Regions from separate parts of the Homo sapiens genome. Here regions 2 and 3 are each linked to region 1. Evidence: promoter capture Hi-C in human tissues and cell types (Jung and others, 2019). All regions are on one chromosome and are shown on one strand. The core of a region is centred on a gene start or on the middle of the fragment in contact, and the rest is flanking DNA. Distances in the headings are between cores, read along the strand shown.

What was found. The method cuts DNA at HindIII sites, captures the fragments that hold promoters and counts their contacts. A contact is called where the count stands out against the background at its distance.
Region 2: a contact is called between the fragment with the promoter of FAM219A here and the fragment with the promoter of VCP in region 1, in 1 of the 25 tissues and cell types used here (spleen).
Region 3: a contact is called between the fragment with the promoter of CCDC107 here and the fragment with the promoter of VCP in region 1, in 1 of the 25 tissues and cell types used here (neural progenitor cells).

The regions. Positions count from the first base shown.
Region 1 is chr9:35,071,095-35,074,039 of GRCh38, reverse strand. It overlaps VCP (valosin containing protein), which reads left to right and starts at 1,415. Exons shown (of 17, transcript NM_007126.5): 1 at 1,415-1,703. The coding sequence starts at 1,687. It overlaps FANCG (FA complementation group G), which reads left to right. Exons shown (of 14, transcript NM_004629.2): 14 at 1-201. RefSeq lists enhancers at 848-897, 918-1,057, 1,258-1,307 and a silencer at 1,708-2,337. The HindIII fragment of the contact is 21,663 bases long and covers 1-2,945 here.
Region 2 is chr9:34,457,012-34,459,956 of GRCh38, reverse strand. It overlaps FAM219A (family with sequence similarity 219 member A), which reads left to right and starts at 1,387. Exons shown (of 6, transcript NM_001184940.2): 1 at 1,387-1,753. The coding sequence starts at 1,694. It overlaps DNAI1 (dynein axonemal intermediate chain 1), which reads right to left and starts at 1,152. Exons shown (of 20, transcript NM_012144.4): 1 at 904-1,152. The coding sequence starts at 951. RefSeq lists enhancers at 1,026-1,095, 1,192-1,486, 1,049-1,589, 2,721-2,945 and a silencer at 1,466-1,715. The HindIII fragment of the contact is 10,660 bases long and covers 1-2,945 here.
Region 3 is chr9:35,656,850-35,659,794 of GRCh38, reverse strand. CCDC107 (coiled-coil domain containing 107) reads right to left here and starts at 1,503. Exons shown (of 5, transcript NM_174923.3): 1 at 1,310-1,503; 2 at 1,068-1,219. The coding sequence starts at 1,415. It overlaps ARHGEF39 (Rho guanine nucleotide exchange factor 39), which reads left to right. Exons shown (of 9, transcript NM_032818.3): 9 at 1-452. It also overlaps RMRP. RefSeq lists a silencer at 1,381-1,640 and enhancers at 1,723-2,230, 2,231-2,739. The HindIII fragment of the contact is 10,595 bases long and covers 1-2,945 here.

The DNA.
Region 1 (2,945 bases), core at 166-2,665:
TTCACCATCATTAGGAATGTGACCATTCCTATATAATTCCTGGACTGGTGAGATTGGTGGTAGGCCTGTGAAATTTGCCCTAGTTACTACCATTCTCGTTTTGGAGGAAACAATCTCTGCCACCACCAAGTCATTGACTTTGCTCGAGGCACCTTTTTTCCTGTTTCTCCTTTTCTGTTGTCGAGTAAAATTTCATATTTATCTCGTCTGCCTACTACATATACTTGCGTGGGAAGGCTTGTGACCGTCTAGTTGAGTGCTAGTTGTCTATGATGCCCTTTCCTGACATCGTCTACCTTATGAACTTGAAGTCTGGGTATGAGGAAAGGGCTACAGGAATCCTCACTTTGGAGGCAGTGGCTTTAGTCCTTCACATTGCCTGAATGCAGAGCCCCAAAGCCCAGGACAGTGACAATGAGTGGAGTTGGGTCTGAAGGGTGGTCTAGATAGGCCTCTCAGGACAAGGGCAGGTACCTGTTACTTAGAGACAGGCAGGTTTCTCTCAGAGTAACTCTTCACTCCCTTCCTAATTCCAAATTCTAGAAATTCGACTCGTCTTAGTCAAATGTGTCTGTGTGGGTACAGGGTGAAAGGTGAATTGAGTCAGCATATCACCAACAGCTGCCTGTTGACTACTAACAGGGACCCCTGTTATTTGGGGCCCAAGGATTTTCAAGTCCCAGCATATGCAGTTTTCTTGCTAATTTGGGTTCTACTGAATTGGCTGTGTGTTCTGTGGTTGCCCTTTGACTTCTCTGGATTTGAGTGCCTTATTATAAGGTATTAATATTAATGACGGGAGGAAGAAAGGCACAAGCGCTGAGAAACTGCAAAGGCTGTGGGATTGGGGTTACCAGAGGGTGCAGTGACAATGGGGTAGGAGTGGGGTGCTAGTCAGAAAGTTCAGAGTAGGGGTGGTTGGAGGCAGCGTTGAGAAGGAGCAAGAAGTGTCAGGGTGGTGATGGCGTCTTAGAAGATCTCCAGGTTTTGGGAGAAGATGGGTGTATGGGTTACCACAATAGGACTAGACTAATACAAGGGTTCAGTCTATTGTGCCACGTTCTTCCAGGAGGATAAACTCCGGAGCCAATGAACTGGAGCCAAGTGGGAGAGTCCGCCTCTAAGGGATTAAAGGGTCTCCTTTCACTAATCGATCTCGCCCTATTCCTTTCGTTGATTGGCTGAGAATTCCAATCCGTCGAGGAAGCGTAGCGTTGCGGCCAATTGACGTGGCGTTACTAGGCGTGTCGCATCACTGAGGCGGGAGCCAGGCCGCAAGCGAATTTCCTGATTGGCTGTGATCTGCGGGTTGCTGGGGAGAGGCGCGGAGAGGCGGGCGAGAGTCCGCAGGGCAGGCGCTGATTGGCTGAGGTGGGAGCAGCTTCCCTTCCGATGATTCGGCTCTTCTCGGCTCAGTCTCAGCGAAGCGTCTGCGACCGTCGTTTGAGTCGTCGCTGCCGCTGCCGCTGCCACTGCCACTGCCACCTCGCGGATCAGGAGCCAGCGTTGTTCGCCCGACGCCTCGCTGCCGGTGGGAGGAAGCGAGAGGGAAGCCGCTTGCGGGTTTGTCGCCGCTGCTCGCCCACCGCCTGGAAGAGCCGAGCCCCGGCCCAGTCGGTCGCTTGCCACCGCTCGTAGCCGTTACCCGCGGGCCGCCACAGCCGCCGGCCGGGAGAGGCGCGCGCCATGGCTTCTGGAGCCGAGTGAGTGTGCGCGCGCCGTTCGCTTGCTGCGGCGGCGCGCACCGGGACCAGCCGCGCAGGGTAGGCCCGGCGGGGCCTGGCCGTGGGCGCGTCAGAGAGGTGGAGACCAGGAAAGAGGGAAGGGAAGCTAGGGGGCGAGTGAGGGGCCGTGGACCCGGCAGGCCCGGCTGGGGCCAGCTGCGCACCCGCGCGCCCCCTAGGCGGGGCTTGCGTTGGGTCCGGGTCGGAGCCTGGGCCGGATCGTGCTGTGTCATGCAGGCCCCGGCCCGCCCGATTGGCTCCCTTAGAACGGACGTCTGGGCCTGGCCAGGTCTTCCGGCCCACTCCGCCGGCGCGGCGCCCCGGGGCTTTGGGGCGCCAGTCTGCCGTCCGGCCTACCACCCGCCGAAAGCCTTTGGTCCCCGGAGAGAGCAGGCCCCGCGAGCCCGAGGCCCCAGCCGGGCCCGGTGGGCGTGGACTTTGCGCCATGTGAAGGCCTCAGGAGCTCTGCCACCGAGGCGGAGCCCGGGGTCGGGGAAGGCCCGCCGAGCTCAGGGAAGCTCACAGCCGCCTTTTTGGAGCCGGGTCGGCGGGGCCGGAGGTGGGCATCCTCTGTGTGTGACCTGAGTCGTGAAGGACTGTTAGGGAGAGGGCGAGCCCTACCTTTCGCTTCTGGTCTTCTTACTTTAGGCCTGTTGTTCATACTAGAAAGTTTGAGCCAGTTTTCCTTAATGTTATGACTCGTGGGTGGGGAGAAAGGAATTTTTCTTTAACATTTTAGGTTCTTGCTAAAGTTGGAATCTCAGTTCGTGTTTTGTGCGCCTTTCCAGATTTCCAGGTTTCGTGGTGTGCAGTTTAGAGTTGCACTAACTCTTCAAAAACACAAACGTGCGCGCACTCCTTTCCCCAACCAGCTATATTGAGAAATTACCCGGGCTCTGGGGCTTTCTGACCCCACCTCCATCCTTAGGAAAGCGTTAGATAAAACTTGGCTACCTCAGCCCATTCAATTTAGAATAGAGAGCTTTTAGAGGCAAAAAAAAAAAAAAAAAAAAAAAAAAAAACACAGCCAGCCCAAGGAAACTCTATGCAAATTACCTTCCTTCCTTGAAGAGATTAGTTTTTTGAGGTGTGTTCCTTTTTCTCAAGTTTCTGAATTCGGATAAAGTATTACTCAGTTGCTTATTTAAAAGAGTCACTTATTCTGAAAGTATTCTTTTGGTTTATATGCAGTCAGCCTCTTATTTTCAAAAGTAAAAATCT
Region 2 (2,945 bases), core at 138-2,637, 610 kb after region 1:
GGGCCTCTCTCCTCTTCCTCTTTGCCTGCCCTTTCTCTCCTCATAAATCTCCCAGCACAGAAAATAAAATCACACTCCTGCACATAGCCTGTCCTGTATTCTGTTTAGTTCTCTTGCACACCCTCTGTGGGCTCCCAAACAGCAAGAGCTGTGTTCCCACCTAGCCTGGAGCTAGGCACACAGCAAAGGGTTGGATAAAGAATGCCTTTGAGGCTGGGCGCCGTGGCTCACGCCTGTAATCCCAGCACTTCGGAAGGTCAAGGTAGGAGGATCGCTTGAGCTCAGGAGTTAGAGACGGGCCTGGGCAACATGGGGAAACCCCGTCTCTACCAAAAACACAAAATTTAGCCGGGCGTGGTGGCCTATGCCTTTGGTTCCAGCTATTCGTCAGGCTGAAGTGGGAGAATCGCTTGCACCCAGGAGGCAGAGGTTACAGAGAGCTGAGATGGCGCCACTGCATTCTAGCCTGGGCTACAGGGCGAGCCTCTGTCTCAAAAAAAAAAAAAGAAAGAAAGAAAGAAAAAGAAAAAGAAAAATTCCTTTGGGACAAGAATGTGAGAACAAGGAGGAAGGGACTCGTGGGAATGGGGATGGGGAAGTTAAGGAGAATAGACTGGTCAGAATGAGTCCATGGGGTAAAGTGAAGTGAAGAGATGGGAATGGTGGATAAAAGGAGAGAGGTAAGAAACGGTGGATTGGGGTAGTATGGGAGAGGAGGCCGGGATTAGTGGGAAAGAGTAGGACAGAGTCAGAGGTCAGTGGGAGCACTTACCAGAGGTCACGGGGGTGAGAAGGCTGGGGTCAACAGAGAAAAGATCAAGGATCAGTAGGAGAGGTATGATTAGTGGTCACTGGCGACGACGAAGGTCAGAGGTCATCAGAAGGAAGGTGTGCGTACGTTACCTGCTTATGAGGCTGTTTATGGGGAGCCTTCGCAGAAGCAGGAATCATCTCAACCCCTGGAGAGCCTACAAAACGCTCCCTCGTCTGAAGACAAAAAGTTTGTCCGTCTCCTTGACCACACACAAGAAATCTGGACTCTCTTCCACTTCAGTTACCAGTCGCAACGGTTCTTTAGGGACAGCCGTCGTTGTGGGTCCCCGTGCCCTTGCAGGATAGAATCCAACTCCCTGACGCGGTTACCCAGCAACCGACCAGCAGCCAAGGCGCAGGCGCTTCGGCGCGCCCAGCCGGCCCGGAAAGGAGGCGGGGTTGGGCGCGCGGCGAGCGAGTCTCCACTAAGCCCCGCCCCCTCAGGAATCACAGCTGGGCGGCCGCGCGCATTCGGAACTCCCGCATGTGGGTGGGGCTGGGGTCCCCAGGCACCGCCTCCTCATGAATAATGCAAGATCCGGGCGGTGTCCCGGACCCGGAAGTGGAGTTGCCGAGTCACCGCAGTGGCTGAGCTGCTGACAGGAGGCGGCAGCGGAGTAGGAGGCGAGGCAAGACCTGCGGCTCGGCCCGGCCACAGCCGCGGTAGTGCTAGGCAAGCCCACGGAGTCACGCCGGCCTCAGCCAGTCTGCGAACCTCTCGCCCCCGCCCACCCCTGCATCCGCCCGGCCCCTGCCCGCCCGAGTGGTCCGGGGAGGCCTAGTCTGCACCACCCGCCGGGCTCCTGGGGCCGCCGCCCCGCGCGGTCCTGTCGGCGTCCGCGGCCGCGCCCGGCCCCTGGCCCGCTCGCCCGCCGGCACCATGATGGAGGAGATCGACCGGTTCCAGGTGCCCACCGCGCACTCGGAGATGCAGCCGCTGGTGAGGGGGCGGGCGGCGGGCAGGCCAAGGCCGGAGGGGGCGTCGCTTGAGGGGGAGGGAGGGAATCAGGCCGGGGGGATCGTGCGGAGGGGCGCCATCGGATGGGGCAAAGAGATCCCTGAAAACGTATTGCCGGGGGACGGGGACTTGCAGGACAAGAAAACCGTGGGAGAATATGCTGGATGAGAGCAAAGGGACCTGTAAGGGCGGAGGGCACCGTCGGTGGAAGCAGGGCACCGTCGGATGGAACGGAGGGGGCACAAAGGTGCACACCGCTAGTGGAGGCCCATAGCAGGGACTGGCGAGGGAACTGCCATGGGGCACCGCCGGCGGCAGGCCCAGGGGTCTGGGATGGGAGGTGGGGAGGCGTTTAGTCCTAGAGGCCTGTGATGCTTAGGGCGGGGGAGCCGTCAGGCTAAGAGAGATTGGGAATCAGCTTTTAGAAGAGGAGGGGCTTGCCCGCCTGTCCGCTGGATATACGGACAGGAACGCTGGGCCGGGGCGAGGGACCCAGTGGGGGAAGGTGGTTGGTGCAGAACCTGGGAATTCCGTTCTCCGGTGGGGAGCGCAGGCAGACCAGGCTGGGGGCATCTAAACCGGGAAGGAGAGTGCGCGGCGACCAGATGGGGAATCGGGGTGCAGATGAGAGTGCTCGGGAACCGACGGGAGAGGAAGTGGGGTCGCGCTGGAGCTGCCTGTGCGCACTGGTTGGGAAGAGCCCCCATCATCTTAGGCCTACGTGCCTGAAGTCCTTGCTGGGCGCGGATCCTGCCGCCTGTCCGCGGTCCCGGAGTCAGGGAGGAATGATGTCATCGCTGCTGGCGCGGAGGGAATGGAAGGGGGAGGGCAACTCGGGTGCACCGAGGCTAGGCCTAAGGGAGACCATGCTTGCTGGCCACCGCCCAGGGGGCTCCCTGACCTCGCTTGTCTGTCAGGCAACCGGGTGGGAGACGTGGAGGCCTAGCCAGCTCGTATAGTGAGGGGGGAAGAGAGGGAATGTCTAGGCTGTGTTCGCTTTATCCCCCTGGAGCCTGAGCTGGAATTGGAAGGAGGCAAGGTGGGCTACAAATCCGAAAGTGTGGATGCCCCATTTCTCTGAGCTGTGCTGGCTGGAGCAGAGCTGAGTTCTCCAAGTTCTGAAGTTCTGCTTCTGTGTTAGGCAGGGTGGCCAGAAACAGGTCTACCCTTGGGC
Region 3 (2,945 bases), core at 254-2,753, 590 kb before region 1:
TCTTTCCATAGTGCTTACTGGAGCCTTCCAAAATAATGTCTCCTCAAGGTGACAGCCCCTCAGGAATTTGAAGGCAATGGTCACACCCTCACCCACTTTCCTGAGTTTTTTCTGGTTTATTAACGTCAGTCTTTACAGTCAGTGCTCATTGACGGTGGTTTTCTCTGGTTGTTTCCTGAACACGTAGTGCTCTTAAAGCAATGCCCTGAGGAGAATACAATTCTCCAGGGGCATTCTGATTGGCAGGTGAAGCACAGTGCCATGTTCCCAGCACTGATTTGGGAAGTGGCTTGTCACATCCCACAGTGAACTCAGTCAACTGGAATGCCTAACTCTCTTTCATAAGACCTCCTGCTACATTATGTTTCTCCCAGACTGTACTCAGGTCCAAGAACAGAATTTACTAGTCTATCCTTCTCAAAGTTCATCATTAAATTCAGTCATTCATCCTAGCCTGTCACATCTACCTGGGGTCATTATTAGCTATCTCTTCTAGTTTCATATATCTAAACTGGTTCCATCGGTTCTATTTTATAATGCAAGTACGTAATAGGGTCACGGCTAAAGACACAGCCCTGGAAGGTACTGTTTTTCAAAATGTACTGTCAACTTACATTTCAGGGCCTCCTCCCAAGGAGAACATGAGACCACTTCATATCTGGAACTCTAGAAACACTGGCTGCAGCAATCAACCTCCTGTGCCAAGGCTGGCCCCACTCTTGTAGCATGGACACTGCTAGCTGGGTTCAAATCCCAGCTCCAGCAGTTGCCAGCGCTGGGTGACCTCGAGCAAGTGACTACTCCTCACTGGATTGTAGGAGAACTAAATGTGATAGTCATTATTTACAGTTCACCACACGCTCTTCACATCCGTTACCTCCCTGGATCCTCAAAATAACCTCATAATATTGGAAGGCCAACGGACTACTGTCTTTATTTTACAGACAGGGAAGCTGTGTCTTGTTCTTGGTACCCTGGCACCCCCATGGGAGATTCGGGCTCAGGGGATCCCCACGCCCGGCGGTCCCGCACCTGCAGGGGCACCCCTACCCCCGGCCGCCCCGTACCTGCAAACACTTGTACAGCACAAAAGCCGCGACGGCCGCGGTGTACAGCGCCCCCAGAGGCAGCGACCCGGCCCGGGTCCGCTCGCGTTGATCCTTGAGCGGTGGTCGCCGCCGGGGTTCCGTGGCTCCAGAGCCGGGGTGGGCTGCGTTCCCTGCGGAGGGAGGATACAGGCGAGTCAGCCGAGCTGGGGCCTGGGACCCGTGCGCAGTCCCAGCCCTCCTCCAGCAGCCCTAGCTGGTACCTGGGTGTGCCCGGAGGTCGGGATTGGCGCGGTCTCCTAGGACCCCGGACAGCGCAGACACAAGCAGCAGCCCCACCACACCCAAGAGCGAAACTGCGCCCGCCATTGCCGGCCCACGGGTGGAGGGATCGGGCGGGCGGTGCCGAAGCGGTCCGGCATTGGCCGGCCGCCCCAACGCGCACGCGCACGCGAGCAGGCCGGCCGGCTCCGGGGAGGCCACGCCCACTCCCCGTAGGGCGGGGCCAGACCATATTTGCATAAGATAGTGTCATTCTAGCTTTCCTGTATTTGTTCATTTCGTGTCTATTAGCTATTCTGCTAGCCACAATGCCTCTGAAAGCCTATAGTCTTAGAAAGTTATGCCCGAAAACGGTTTTTTTAATCTCACGCCACCAACTTTCTCACCCTAATCATAAAACACAATTTCTTTAGGGCTATAAAATACTACTCTGTGAAGCTGAGGACGTGGTTCGTGCTGAAGGCCTGTATCCTAGGCTACACACTGAGGACTCTGTTCCTCCCCTTTCCGCCTAGGGGAAAGTCCCCGGACCTCGGGCAGAGAGTGCCACGTGCATACGCACGTAGACATTCCCCGCTTCCCACTCCAAAGTCCGCCAAGAAGCGTATCCCGCTGAGCGGCGTGGCGCGGGGGCGTCATCCGTCAGCTCCCTCTAGTTACGCAGGCAGTGCGTGTCCGCGCACCAACCACACGGGGCTCATTCTCAGCGCGGCTGTTTTTTGTTCCCGAGACCACGGCTCACTGCAGCCTCGACCTCCCCGGGCTCACGCGATGCCTCACCTCAGGCTCCCAAGTAGTTGGGACCGCAGGCGCACGCCATCATGCCTGGCTAATTTTTGTATTTTTTGTAGAGACGGATTTTCACCTGTTGCCCAGGCTGGTCTCGAACGCCTGGTGTCAAGCGATCAGTCCACCTCGCCCTCCCAAAGTGCTGGGATTACAGGCGTGACACCGCGCCCGGTCAACGCGGCTGCTTTTCATGCGCGGGCAGCTTTACGCTGTTCTTGGCCTTGCTATGAAGTCCTTGTGCTCATTACTCCAAATATGGAGCATTCCTGAAACAGCCTCCTCTTCTACCTCCCTCTCCCTTTGGCAAACGCCATAGTAGCCACCATTCACTGTGTAGCTGGTACACAACATATGGACTCTGCTTGGGCTAGAATCCTGCCTCCTGTACTCAAGAGCGGTGACCTTGTGAAACTTAGTTCTCTCTCCGTGCCTTCCTTTCCACTCTGAGGAATGAAGATAAGCACTTACTTCAAGAGCTATGATGATTAAATGGGATCACTCAAGTTAGAACCGTGCCTACTTATTAGTGATTTTTTTTTTTTTGGAACGGCGGGTCGCTCTCTTGCCCAGGCTGGTCTTAAACTCCTGGGATCCTCCCGCTTCAGCCTCCCGGGTAGTTGACATTACAGGCACGTGCCACCCCGACGGACTCTAGTGATTTTTTAACTTGAGCAGCTACTACTGTAAGCCAGACAGTTGAAATTACACTGACTCTCCCTGACATGCCGCTGCATTCCCTTTCTGCATACTGGGTTCTACACGACCTTCAGTTCTCAGCTCAAGTGTGTTCCCATCATTCGGAACCCTTAATTCAACTTCTAATTTATT